Linked DNA regions of Homo sapiens: regions 1 and 3 are each linked to region 2. Evidence: promoter capture Hi-C in human tissues and cell types (Jung and others, 2019). All regions are on one chromosome and are shown on one strand. Each heading gives the region's core, a stretch centred on a gene start or on the middle of the fragment in contact. The rest is flanking DNA. Distances are from core to core; before and after follow the strand shown. Region 1 overlaps SEZ6L (seizure related 6 homolog like). Region 2 holds the start of SEZ6L (seizure related 6 homolog like). Region 3 has its middle 22 kb from the start of LINC02559.

Region 1 (4,114 bases), core at 1,378-3,877, 46 kb before region 2:
AGTGATCCACCCACTTCAGCCTCCCAAATTGCTAAGATTATAGGCGTAAGCCACCACGCCCAGCCTACTTCACCTCTTTAAGTCTCAGTAATATATATAAAACTAGCAGTTCAAATGAGAAGACATGGACACAGGGAGGGGAACATTACATACCAGGACCTGTTGGGAGGTGGGGAGCAAGGGGAGGGAGAGCATTAGGACAAGTACCTAATGCATGTGGGGCTTAAAACCTAGATGACGGGTTGATAGCTGCAGCAAACCACCATGGCACATGTATTGTACCTATGTAACAAACCTGCACGTTCTGCACATGTATCCCAAAACTTAAAAGTAAAAAAACAAAACAAACAAACAAAACTAGTGGTTCAGATGGCTTTGGTTAGGGTTGCAAAGGGATAATGAATGGGTATTTATAAAGTGCTCAGCACTGGCCTGACACAAAGCATGTCCTCAATAAATGGGAGACATTGTTTTTCTTTCTCTCTACCTGATGGCTGTGTATATTCCTGCATCTGTTTTCCTACTCAACTGTGTGTTTATCAACGGCAGGAAGTGTGTCTAATTTACCTCTGCTCTCCAGCACCCAGGAGATTGACAGGACAGAGAAGGGTCTCCAGGAACTGTTTGCAGAGGGAGCCTGTGTCTGTGTTCATTTCTTGTCGACATCAGCCTCAGAAGTGTCTTCTACGTTCAGAATTCAATTCAACTCTCATGAAAGAAAGCCAGGCACTTCGCCTTCCATCGCAGCAGGTGGCAAGGGAATTTTAGAAAATGCCGTATGGCAGGACCTAAAGGGGAAATTCCTTGAGGAGGAGGAGTCCCACACAACATGTTGTATTTGCGAGGCCCACTTGGGGCCATATAAGCTGATCTTGAAAGAACCGTGGGGCCTTGTCATCCATTTTACAGATTGGAAGAGTGAGGCCCAGAGTGGGGGACTTGCTCATGGCCATAGAAATTGAAATTGGATGGGCAGAGACTTAACATTACCTAATTAAATAATCACATTAATGTGGACCCACTAATAGACGGATACCCCAGAGGAAGAGACAGAGCTGTCTTCAGAAGTGACACTTACACTGAGGTCTGAAAGAGAAGTAGAAGGTAATCAGGCCAAAAGTCAGGAAGGGGTTTACAGAAATGTTTAGGAAGAGGGAACAGCAGGTGCAAAAGCCCTGTGTTGGCAGAAGCCACAAGAAGATCAGTGTGGCCGAAAGAAAAAAGGGAGGATGTCACTGATACAGAAGATAGCCAGGACCTGATTGTGCATGTCTTGTAAGTTCCAAAGAAGAGTCTGGGTTTGGTTTCAAGGGTTGGAGGGTTATAGTCAGTGTTGGGTTTGGAAATGTCACTATGGTGGTGGGAAGGGAAGAATGGGGCATTCTGGGGTCCCAGCTCTGCTACCTACTAGCACTGTAATCCTGGAGGAGTGCAAGTTGCCACGCAGGTACTTAAAGCTATTGTGTGGAATAAATGAGATGATAATTAGTGAGTTACTGTTATCATCATTAGTCAAAAAAGCAAAGCACTAAAGAGTCAGAAGTCCTGGGTTCAAATCCCAGTTATTCCCATTTAATCCTCAGGGGTGCAGGAGAGCCCAGTGGTTAAGAGCTCTGGCATTGACACCAGACATCAAGGGGTCCAGGCTAAACCCTACCACTTCCCTCCTGGTTATATGGCCTTAAGCAAGTGACTTTACCTCTCAAAGCCTTAGATTTTCCATATGCAAACTGGGGACAATAATGAGAATGACCTAGTGGGTGGTTGTACAGATTTAATACAAATTAATAGCATGATGTCTGATAAATTTTGGCCATTTTGATGATGATAATGATGATTGCCAAATTGGTTTTATTCACATAAGGACACTACTTTTACCTGCTGGACCATTTCTTTTTCTTTTTCTTTTTCTTTTCCTTTTTCTTTTTTGAGATGGAGTCTCACTCTGTCACCAAGGCTGGAGTGCAATGGCGCAATCTCGGCTCACTGCAACCTCCGCCTCCCGGGTTCAAATGATTCTCCTGCTTCAGCCTCCTGATTAACTGGGATTACAGTTGCACACCACTACACCCAGCTAATTACTGTACTTTTAGTGGAGACAGAGTTTTACCATGTTGGCCAGGCTGGTCTCGAACTCCTGATCTCAAGTGATCTTCCCGCCTCAGCCTCCTAAAGTGCTGGGATTACAGGTGTGAGCCATCACACTCGGCCCCTGCTGGATCATTTCTTAGGACAATAAACTAAACATCCACCACTTGGGGACAGGTCAGCTGTCCCCTTAGGGATTGAGTGATTTCTCAGGAAAAGTTCTGAGACAGGAAAGACTGATTTAGCAGAAAGAGCTAGATCATTTCCAGCTCCTCCACTAACTGACCACGTGGGACTGCGCAAGGTCCCAGCTCTCCCTGGTTTTCTGTTTCTTCCTCTCTGGGCTTTGCTTCTGACAGGGTTTCTGTTTCTTCCTCTCTGGGCTTTGCTTCTGTTCCTTTAAGCTTGCTGGATGGTCAGAATGCTCTAGTTTGGGGGCAGGGAGAGAGGAAGATGGGAATCACTCAAATCCAATTTCCGTGGCTTCACCTAGTGCTCCCGTCATGCAATAAGGAGCATCCGGGACCTCTGCTCTGCTTCTGTCAGCGAGAAGCTGGGATGATTCAGTGCCTTGCAAAGCGAGCTCATCACATCAGGCTGTTCACACTGCTCTGTAGATAAGGCTCAGCTCATCAGTCAAGATGCCCTAAACGTTTCCTCAGATCCCTGCTCACCCCAGGCGAATGGCCCTTCTTCCCAGAGGTGAACACATCTGAAAGGATCCCTGACAAGTCACTGGGATTGAGCACTTGATCCAAACCCACCTCAGGCTGGGGGCACAACCTTCAGTCTATGAAATGAAGGCCTGGGGAATTCTTTTCATTCATTCATTTACTTCTTTATGGGGTTTCCTTTTGCTCCCTTTTTTCTCTTTACCTCTCACAGCTAGGCTCTCCAGTGTTCTTAGGGATTGATATGGATTGAGCCTTTTCTTTTTTTCTTTCATCCCTTCCTGAGTCTCCATTAGGGATCTGTTTTCTTTTGGAAACAAAACGAATCGCCTCTCCCATTTTGGTTTGCCATTTCAAGATGGTGGGAGTCATCTATCCAGCAAGTTTTCCAAGCAAGGAAAAAGAAGACCAGGACCTCACCAAGAACATGCAGAAGTATGTCTGAGTGGGAGGTGGGGTGAGGGTTGAGAAATTACCTATTGGGTAAAATGTTTAATATTTGGGTGATGGGTGCACTAGAGTCTAACCTCCACCATTGTGCATGTAACACCTGTGTAACAAGCCCATATACCTAGTGAACCTAAAATTTTTTAAAAAAGAAGTACATCTTAGGACAAACATAAACTCTACAATGATCTCAGTTAACATCATGATTAAAACAATAAATTTAAGTAAATTACAAAGTTACTGATACATGTAATTCGGTCTTCGCTTCTAACCAAGCACCACCCATGTGATGAAAGTTCAGGGCTGAGAAACATTTTTCTTGAACGATTCTGTTCTCCTCCCTTAAAAAGTATGTACCACTTTCATTTCTTTAGTTCAATAAACACTTACTTAGTGCCTGCCCAATGAATACGTACTAAATCACATTGAGCATTTTTTTTTGTCATATGCCAGGCACTCTAAATGTATTCCTTTATGTAGTCATTTATATGTTTCTATTCATCAGTGTTATAAGTTTGATCAATGCCATGCCCACCACCCACCCAGAAACATCCCCGCAAACTCTGTCTATTCCCCAAGTCATAATTCTGTGTTTTCTACTTTTTTCCCCTTCTCCTTTCAGTCTCTTTCTGACTGCAGGCAACCCACTCTTTTCTTCCTCCCCTCCAAATCTGGGCCAACTGGCGCCAAAATCCTTTTGTTGAAGCTTCTGAAAAAAACAAGGTGTTGCTGTCTGTCTGTTCACACCTTTTCTCTGGGCAAGCTGCTTCCTTCCTGAAATTCCGCAGGAGATCCGACCAGCATTTCTTATATATAATACTCCACATGATATTCCTGCTTTGTATAGTTCTGGCTCCTTCAGGACTTTAAAGTTTTTTCTTCCCTCTTCTTCCCCATCAGGGAATCCA
Region 2 (4,140 bases), core at 544-3,043:
TCCCAGAGAAACTGTCCAGACCTGGTGTAAATTGTGGACATTATTGCCCCATAAAAAAGGGGTGGGGGTTCTTCAATGATATGCTTTGTTAAACAAAAGGTGATGAACAATTTCCTTTGCTCTGCACTCTGGGCTCTACATTTAAAAAGACGGGGAGATGGGGGATAAAATGCCTGATTTATGCTGAGGGGGGCACTCCAGGCCACCGGGAAGGGTTGAAGGGAAAGGGACCCAGAGCCAGGGCCCATGGAGCTGAGAGCTGTCCAGGGCCTTTGGTGCTGAAAGCAGGTGCGCGCGCTGGGGGTCCAGAACTCCCCGGAGAAGAACACCGCCTGTCCCCCAACTCCGAGTCAAGACGGTGCAAATGACAGAGGCGGAGCCCCAGATAAGCATAGTGCCTGCGCTCCCTCTGTCTTCAGCCTGGGCAGACCCTGCAGCTGTCTGCTTTTTTACACGTGAGGAGCGCATTTCTGGGACCTTGCAAGAAGGCCGGGTCCTGTGGCCAACTAACCCTCCCATTGATTTTCGGGTCTCCTAGGTGCCTGAGAAAACCCCCGAAGCTCTGAGGGTTAGCTTTGGGTGAGTTAGGCGTTGCACCCCTCTCTCTATCTGGCCCTCTCCCCCACCCATAACTTTTCCTGGGGTACCTTACCGGGGTGGAGAGAGGGTATGGTTCCAGGTCTGAGAAAGAGGAGCTGTCATTCTCTGCTAAATTTGGGCCCCTCTTCCCCTTCAACAAACACGTGGTAGATGAAACTAACACCCCTCACCCCCCATTCCTAACAGTGATCAGAGATGCTAGGCAGTAGGGGAGAGAGTAGAGGGGAGCCCGTTCAGGTTCCCAACTGCTAACTAACATCTCTTCTCCCTCCCCTACCAAGTTCTCAGAGCCCTCAGCCCCCTCCACCGGCCTCTAGCGAAAGCCACACCCAAGTCCGGTATCCTGACGCTTGGCTGAGATCGATCCAGGAACACAGACCCTCGGGGTAGCCTGAACCAAAGGAGTCAAGGGTTTCTGTGGTGTCGGGGGGAGCGGCAAATGCACTGTTTGAGTCTAGTCCTCAGTTGCAGGGTGGGTCAGCTTCTCACCCCCCTTCCTGTCCTCTCCCGGAGAGGAAGATAATTATCTGGCACCTAGCCCCGGGTGCGGTTGCAGAGAAGCGCCGGGAATTTGGGGTTTGGAGGCGACCCCACTCCAAGGAGAACCTCTTTGGCTGCAAAGGAGAATCAGCCCCGCAGCCGGGGAAGACCGAAAGGGAGCCCGCAGCCGAAGCAGGGAAGCGCCCGAGTCCTTCAACACATCCCCGCCTCCACACTCCCATCAGCCCGGGCCAAGGGGACGTGCGGTTCCTAGCCCCGATTTTGGACAGCCACCACCGCTTCCCATCCCGGCGGGTGGTGCCTGAGTCGCCCTGGTCAGCCCCGACCCCTGGCTGCCCCGCTCTCCCGGCAACTTTGCCCCCTGCCCGCCCCGCCCCTCGGGGCGCTTACCTCGCTCCAGCGCTGCCGCCGGGCTCCCCAGGAGCAGAGCGAGGAACAGCGAGATCCCGCGGAGTCCCGCGGCGGGCGGCCGGGCCGCGGGCATCGTGGCTGCAGGGGGCGCGGAGCCGCTGGCTGTGGGGCGGGCGGACGGCGAGGGAGCTGGGGAAGGAGGGCGGCGGTGAGCGAGAAAGGGGAAGCGGGAGCGAGGGAGGAGGCCGCGGGCCGGGGCAGCTTCCGGAGCCCCCTGGGCGGACGCGCGCTCAGCCCCGCGGTCGCTCTGGCCGAGCTGCGCCGGGCGCGGGCGGGCGAGTGAGGAGGAGCCGGCGAGCGAGCGAACGAGCGTGGAGCGAGCGGGAGGAGGGAGGGGGCTGGGGCCGAGTCTGTGCCGAGCGAGTGCAGGGAGGGAGGGGGCGGGCGAGCGGGCAGTGAGCTGGAGGGGCCGCGGCGGCGCCGGGGGTGCCAGCCGCCTCCTCTGGCCGCCGGCCCGTCGGCCCTGCAAAGTTTAACGCCAATTCCCCTTGCGTCCTGGGAGCCGAGCGTTTTCTCTCCCTGCTGACGCTCCCAGCAGCTCTGCCTGGCCAGGCCAGGCTGGAGAGCACCCGGACCATTTTCCAGACGGTGAGATGGAGCCCTGGAAACCGAGCTTATGAGCAGCCCGGAGCTTTCCATTGCCTGCCCAGCCTTCCAGATACATCCCAGTTCCAGTTCTTTCCAGAGCCCTCTGGGATCCAGCCAGCCTGCTTCCCCGCCAGGGCCTCACTGCTTCCAAAGTGAGTCCCCATAACCTAGAAAGTCTGTAACTCTGTGGATCTGGTGACAGCTGTGAATCTACTAGAACACTACACATAGCCACAAAATCGTGCATCTAACACGAGGGGGTCTGGACCCCTCTGAAGCCCAATCACGAACTCTAAATTAAGATCCACCTCCACTTTTTAATCTGAGCCCTGTCTCCCATAACCCCACTGCCGGCAGGGCACTAGCGCTGCGAGGCTTCCTCTCAGGTCAGCCGCTTGCCTCTTCCTGTACCCGCTTCCCTATCTGAGCAGGACTACAAGGCCCACCTCTGCAGCATTCTTGCCCAGGCCTGATTCTCAAGCAAAGTCTTTTCTCCACAAATAGAGGTAGTGAGGGACAATCAATGAGGGAGATAAACAGATACTTGGGGACAGACATTGGCAGAGAGCTAGGTGGGGACAAGCTTATGCACAGTCCTGGAGACTGACTGTCTCTCCCTGCGTAGCCTTGGCAGACCGGTCAGGCTTTACAGGCCTCTCACCCAATTTAGAAGCTGTCCTCCTCCCCCTACCCTACCTTGCCATACTATCTACACACTGCAGCCTGAACAGGCAGAGGGAGCAGATGGAGAGAAGGTTGCAGGCAGCAACAGGGGGAGGAATATGTCTTTAGCAGCGTGGTGGAGCCGGGAGTCCCTAGAAAGAATGGGTGGGGGAGGTGAACACTGGATGGAGGAGGGAAGGAGAAGCACTCTGGCCCAGGGTTTCAGAAGACGCTCCACACCCAGAGCTTCCCCATTTACTCACTCAAACAATGCTCTTTTACAGGCCACTGACTATAGGCCCAGACCTGCCTCAGGCTTTGGGGGACAGAGAGCCCCCCCATAAAATCCTATCTTCAGCTGCAAGAGGTTTCCATTCCTGGCAGTAAACCCAACTGGCTTTTATAAAGAAGGTGGCTGAGGCAGGGATGCAGGAGTGCTGATTTCTCCTTTGGAGAAGATGAAGCACTCCATGCTTTACTGTATGAGGCTGCCAGCTCTCTGTGGAATGACCTTGCCTGTTTGTGGCTATACGCTCAGGCTCTGTATAGTATAATGCAGGCATGCAGCGGGTGCTCAGTGAGACTTGTTCAATGGAAACCTAAAGAAGCAAGGAAGATGGAGGAGGAGGGGAAAGGGAAGAAAGCGAGCGAGAGAAAAACGAAGAGGTAGTTTAGCTCCATACTTGGAGGCAAGGAAACTATTTTTAATTCCTAGGTTCAGGGGTACTTGTGCAGGTTTGTTATGTGTGCAAACTTGTGTCATGGGAGTTTGTTGTACAGATGATTTCACCAACCAGGTATTAAGCCTGGTACTCAATAGTAATTTTTTTCTGATCCTCTCCCTCCTCCTGCCTTCCACCCTCTGGTAGGCCTCTGTGTGTGTTGTTCCCCTCTATGTGTCTGTGTGCTCTCATCATTTAGCTCCCACCTATAAGTGAGAACTTGTGATATTTGGTTTTCTGTTCCTGCATTAGTGTGCTAAGGATAATGGTCTCCAGCTCCATTCATGTTTTTGCAAAGAACATGATCTCATTCTTTTTTATGACTGCATAGTATTCCATGGTGTATATGTACCGTATATATGCTCATTCATTGATGAGCATTTAGGTTGATTCCATGTCTTTGCTCTTGTGAATAGTGCTGCAATGAACATACATGGGCATGTGTCTTTATAATAGAACAATTTATATTCCTTTGGGTATATACCCAGTAATGTCAGACAACCTACAGAATGGGAGAAAAATTTTACAAACTATGCATCTGCAAAAGTCTAATATCCAGCATCTATAAGGAACTTAAACAAATTTACAGGAAAAAAACCAAACAACCCAACTGAGAAGGAAACTATTGTGTAAAGAATCCACTGTTTGCCAGGTG
Region 3 (4,401 bases), core at 1,026-3,525, 39 kb after region 2:
TTCATTCAGTACTTACCAGGTATCCAACAAAGTTATTCATTCATTCATCAAATCTCTGACTCTTACCCATGGTTCTATGGCAGACATCGAGGTTACCATAAATTACACAGGGATATGTCAATTCATTTGACAAATGCTCATTGAGCATCTACTATGTGTAAGACAGTCAGTCCATCTGTCCATCCATCCATCCATCCATCCATCCATCCATGCATCCATTTATTATATATTTATTGGGAGCCTATTTCACGCCAGGCTAGTCCTAGGTGCTAGGGATACTGTGGTGAACAAGACAGATATGGTCTCTGCCCTTGGAGCATCTGGCAGAGTCACCCCTTTGTTGGTGGCTTTAGGGAATCAGAAAGTCTAAAGGAGAGAGACCATTTCAGGTGATGGGACAAACAGGCTTGCTCCGGGCGCCCACCTGAGGAGCTGGAGGTGAGGATAAGGATGGGGCTGCATCCTCCAGATACCCAGAGCCTGTCTTTCGCTGCATTCCTTACGGGCAGGCTCTGCTGCCACATATGAGCATTCTCAGAAATCTCTGCTCACCAAGGACAGGACTGCCCTATGCCATTCCCTGTGGTGCAGACTCTCTTGACCCAGGTGCAGCACTTTTCTCCCTCTGAGTGGTTCTGCCTTCAGCCTAATGCGTGGATATTTCCATTTCAAAAGCACTGTCATGATGCATATCCACCTCATCCCCCTACTCTCAGCATCACGGAGCTGATGTCTGGCCGGGGGGCACTGCACGTCTCATAATAATGCTTGTTATTACAGTCAAGACTCACCCCAGCCTCCATTCTGAGCACACAAATTAAACATCGCACTGGCTTCCCCTCCAACAGCTTCCCGGCCCTGCCTCCTCTGCAAGAACTCTGGCTTCAGGCAACTTCTCAGGGATTCCATGGCTTATTTTTGCCTGACCAAGCTGATTTTTTTCCCCTCTCTTATTCTCTCAAGGTTTTATTCTTGGCACAGTTGCTGGAGATGCTCCAGCTTTGCAGTGAACCAAAATGTTATTCGTTACAGGAAAAAAAAACAACAAAAACCAGCAAACACTGCAGCTTCCCATAAAATACTTTTTTAACCATTAGGGAAAAGCTGTGGTGAGGAGTGGAAGTAAAAACGTAACTCTTGTGGCAACATTCTTGCTACTAATATTTGCTTAAAGCAGGCTACTTGGGTTCGAATCATTAGGAGCCTTATTAGGAACAGAAGCCAAGAAAGGTATTGGACAGGGAGGCAGCCCAGCCGGAAGAGTCTCCAAACAACCATTGTTTCATTCATTCACTCATTAATTCATTCAATAATGAATTTTTGAAAAATATTTATTGAGCACCTTTATGTGCCAGGCACTGTGCGAAGTGTTTGCCACACATTTATGAGCAGAACAGACAGCCTCCCTGCCCTCGTGAATCTTAAAGTCATGGGTAGAGAGATAGGCTGTAAAAAAATCATCCAGTAACCTATGATATGGGAGAAAATATTTGAAAGTTGAATATTTGATAAGGAGTTAATATACAGAATATATAAAGAATTCCTACACTCTGCAACAACATCAAAAAAAAACCCAGTTAAACGATAGGCAAATAACTTCAACAGACATTTTGCACATGAAGGTATGCAAATGGCCAAGGAGCACCTGAACAGGTGCTCAACGCCACTAGTCATTAGGGAAATGCCAATCAAAATCACCAGGAGATACCACCTCTCATCCATCAGGACAGTTACTATCCAAACCACAAAAAATAACAAGTGTTGGCGAGGATGTGGAGGGATTGGAACCCCTGTGTACTGTTGGTGGGGATGTAACAAAAGTGAAATAAGCCAGTCACAAAGGACATGCAGTGCCAGATTCTGCTCAGATGAGGTAGCTACAAGGTCAAATTCAGAGACAGAAAGTAGAATGGTGGTTGCCAGGACTAGCGGGAGTGGGGGAATGTGAAGTTATTTGTTTGTTTGTTTGTTTGTTTGTTTTGTTTTTTGAGACAGAGTCTCACTTTGTCGCCAGGTTGGAGTGCAGAGGCATGATCTCGGCTCACTGCAACCTCCGCCTCCTGAATTCAAGCGATCCTCCTGCCTCAGCCTCCCAAAAGTAGCTGGGATTACAGGAGCGTGCCACCACGCTCAACTAATTTTTTGTATTTTTAGTAGAGACTGGGTTTCACCATGTTGGCCAGGATGGTCTCGATCTCTTGACCTCATGATCTGCCTGCCACGGCCTCCCAAAGTGCTGGGATTGCAAGTGTGAGCCACAGCACCTGGCTGAAGTTATTGTTTAATGGCTATAGAGTTTTAATTTTGCCACCTGAAATGGGTTATGGTGACAGAGGGCAGTGGTGGTTGCACAACAATGTAAATGTACTTAACACCACTGAACTATTCATTCTAAAATGGCTAAGATGGTAAATTTTATGTTATGTGTATTTTACCACAATTTAAACAAATTCCCAAGTGCATGCTTTTAAACTTTAACAAATGCTATCTGGGAAAAGCACAGAGCTGTGACCAAGGTGCAATGAGGCAGATGATGCCCAGATCCTGTTTGAGGAAAGCCAAGAAAAGCTTCCCTGAGGGGTTGACACTTAAGCCAAGACTGGGAGGAGGAGTTGGAGGAGTCAAGAAGACAAAGAAGGAAGGAGGGAAGGGCATTCCAAGCAGAGAGAATGGTGTGAGAAAGGCCTAAGGTGGGAGGCAGGATGTCTGTGGATAGGGCAGGCTGAGAAATAAAATGGCGATATTGTAGTGGGAGGTGAGTTTGAAGAGGCAGAGGAGAGTAGAGTATCTGTCTGTATCTCAAGTTCAATGGGAAATCATTGGAAGGTTATACCCAGATTCCTCCTGACCAGATTCATATTTTAAAGAGCTGATTCCAGCTTCATTGAAAAGATCACTCTCGGCTGGGCATGGTGGCTCATGCCTGTAATCCTAGCACTTTGGGAGGCCGAGGTGGGCAGATCATGAGGTCAGGAGATCGAGACCATCCTGGCTAACACAGTGAAACCTGGCCTCTACTAAAAATACAAAAAAAAAAAAAAAAAAAAATTAGCCGGGCATGGTGGTAGGTGCCTGTAGTCCCAGCTACTCAGGAGGCTGAGGCAGGAGAATGGCCTGAACCCGGGAGGCGGAGTTTGCAGTGAGCCAAGATAGCACCACTGCACTACAGCCTGGGCGACAGAGCGAGACTCCGTCTCAAAAAAAAAAAAAAAAGAAAAGAAGTCACTCTTTTGCAGAATAGACTGTAGAAAGCAAAAGCAAAAGGGAAGAGACTAAGAAGAAGGTTATTGCCTTAGTCCTGGTGAGACGTGATGGTGGATTGGCACCCAGGGGTGGCAGTAGGGGCAGGAGTTAGTGCAGCAGCTGATAGTGAGTAAGGAGACCTCACAAGTGAGGAATCAGAAGCCAGGTCTTCAATGGGGCAACTGTGCCAGGTTTTGATCTGAGATGGATAAGGTTGTAAACTGGGACGTAGTCATGAGCCAAAATTGGAAGCAAGAAAGGAGACAAGGGTTGGGACAAGGAGCTCAGGAATGAGCCCCCCCCAATGCTGGAGGTCAGCTAGCATGGACTTCACAATATGCAGGCAGACCTGATGCCCAGGAGGGCTGGAATGTCTCCATATGTTTACTGCAGTTACACAGGTAATTTTGCAAGCTAGTGAAACCTTCTAATGGGACCAACTGACAGGAGGCTCTCGTTGAAAAATTCTAAAGCCTGTTTCTGTTAAGGTGGGTGCCCTAAGTGTCCTATTCTTGTATCACAATGCTGAGCTCGTGAGAATCAATGATCACTTTCAGTTTTCTGTGCTGCTATAGTAACCTTCCTTCATGATGAAAGTAAGAACCCCGTAAGTAAGACCCCCGTAAGAATGGAACAGACTAAATTGTCAGTATCTCAAAGAAAGATGGATCGCATGATCTTGGGGAAGAAATGTCTATTCAGGTTTATTAAGAACTTGCACTGCCGTTCTGTCATGAACGTGCTTTATTTGTGTAAAAAAAATAAAATAAGGGGGGAAATAACACTGTTTTCATTCATTGCCAGAGGCCTCGTGTACGAATACAAACACTCACAGAAAGTGGTGAGGGCAGTGAGATACTAAGATTCGTAAATTGTTTATGACTTTTGTTGCAATAACAGTACTTTCCAGATCCTTTCTTCATGAAATAATCCTAAATGTGAAATAAAAACTTTATGGATAGAATCGTGTTAGCTGCTGTTACTTGTAACAGGTGAAAAATTGAAAACAACCTAACTGTGCAAAACTACAGCCAATAAATTTTGCCTCATTCCACTCAACAGAATATTACATAACCATTAAAAAATGATGATTACAAAATACATATGCCAAACTGGGCAATGCTTATAATAAAGTTGAGTGAATGTGTATTTAATATC

The links. The method cuts DNA at HindIII sites, captures the fragments that hold promoters and counts their contacts. A contact is called where the count stands out against the background at its distance.
Region 1: a fragment that was not itself captured here is called in contact with the fragment with the promoter of SEZ6L in region 2 in 1 of the 25 tissues and cell types used here (H1 embryonic stem cells).
Region 3: a fragment that was not itself captured here is called in contact with the fragment with the promoter of SEZ6L in region 2 in 3 of the 25 tissues and cell types used here (adrenal gland, aorta and stomach).

What each region holds. Positions count from the first base shown.
Region 1 is chr22:26,214,471-26,218,584 of GRCh38, reverse strand. All of the region lies in intron 1 of SEZ6L (seizure related 6 homolog like), which reads right to left. Among named protein-coding and RNA genes, the nearest start is that of SEZ6L-AS1, 30 kb to the left of the region's middle. The HindIII fragment of the contact is 6,155 bases long and covers 1-4,114 here.
Region 2 is chr22:26,167,115-26,171,254 of GRCh38, reverse strand. SEZ6L (seizure related 6 homolog like) reads right to left here and starts at 1,793. Exons shown (of 17, transcript NM_021115.5): 1 at 1,492-1,793. The coding sequence starts at 1,585. It overlaps LOC105372971 (a long non-coding RNA gene), which reads left to right and starts at 2,021. Exons shown (of 6, transcript NR_188586.1): 1 at 2,021-2,252. RefSeq lists an enhancer at 1-814 and a silencer at 1,641-1,770. The HindIII fragment of the contact is 7,592 bases long and covers 1-3,545 here.
Region 3 is chr22:26,128,101-26,132,501 of GRCh38, reverse strand. No RefSeq gene overlaps it. Among named protein-coding and RNA genes, the nearest start is that of LINC02559, 22 kb to the left of the region's middle. The HindIII fragment of the contact is 3,369 bases long and covers 591-3,959 here.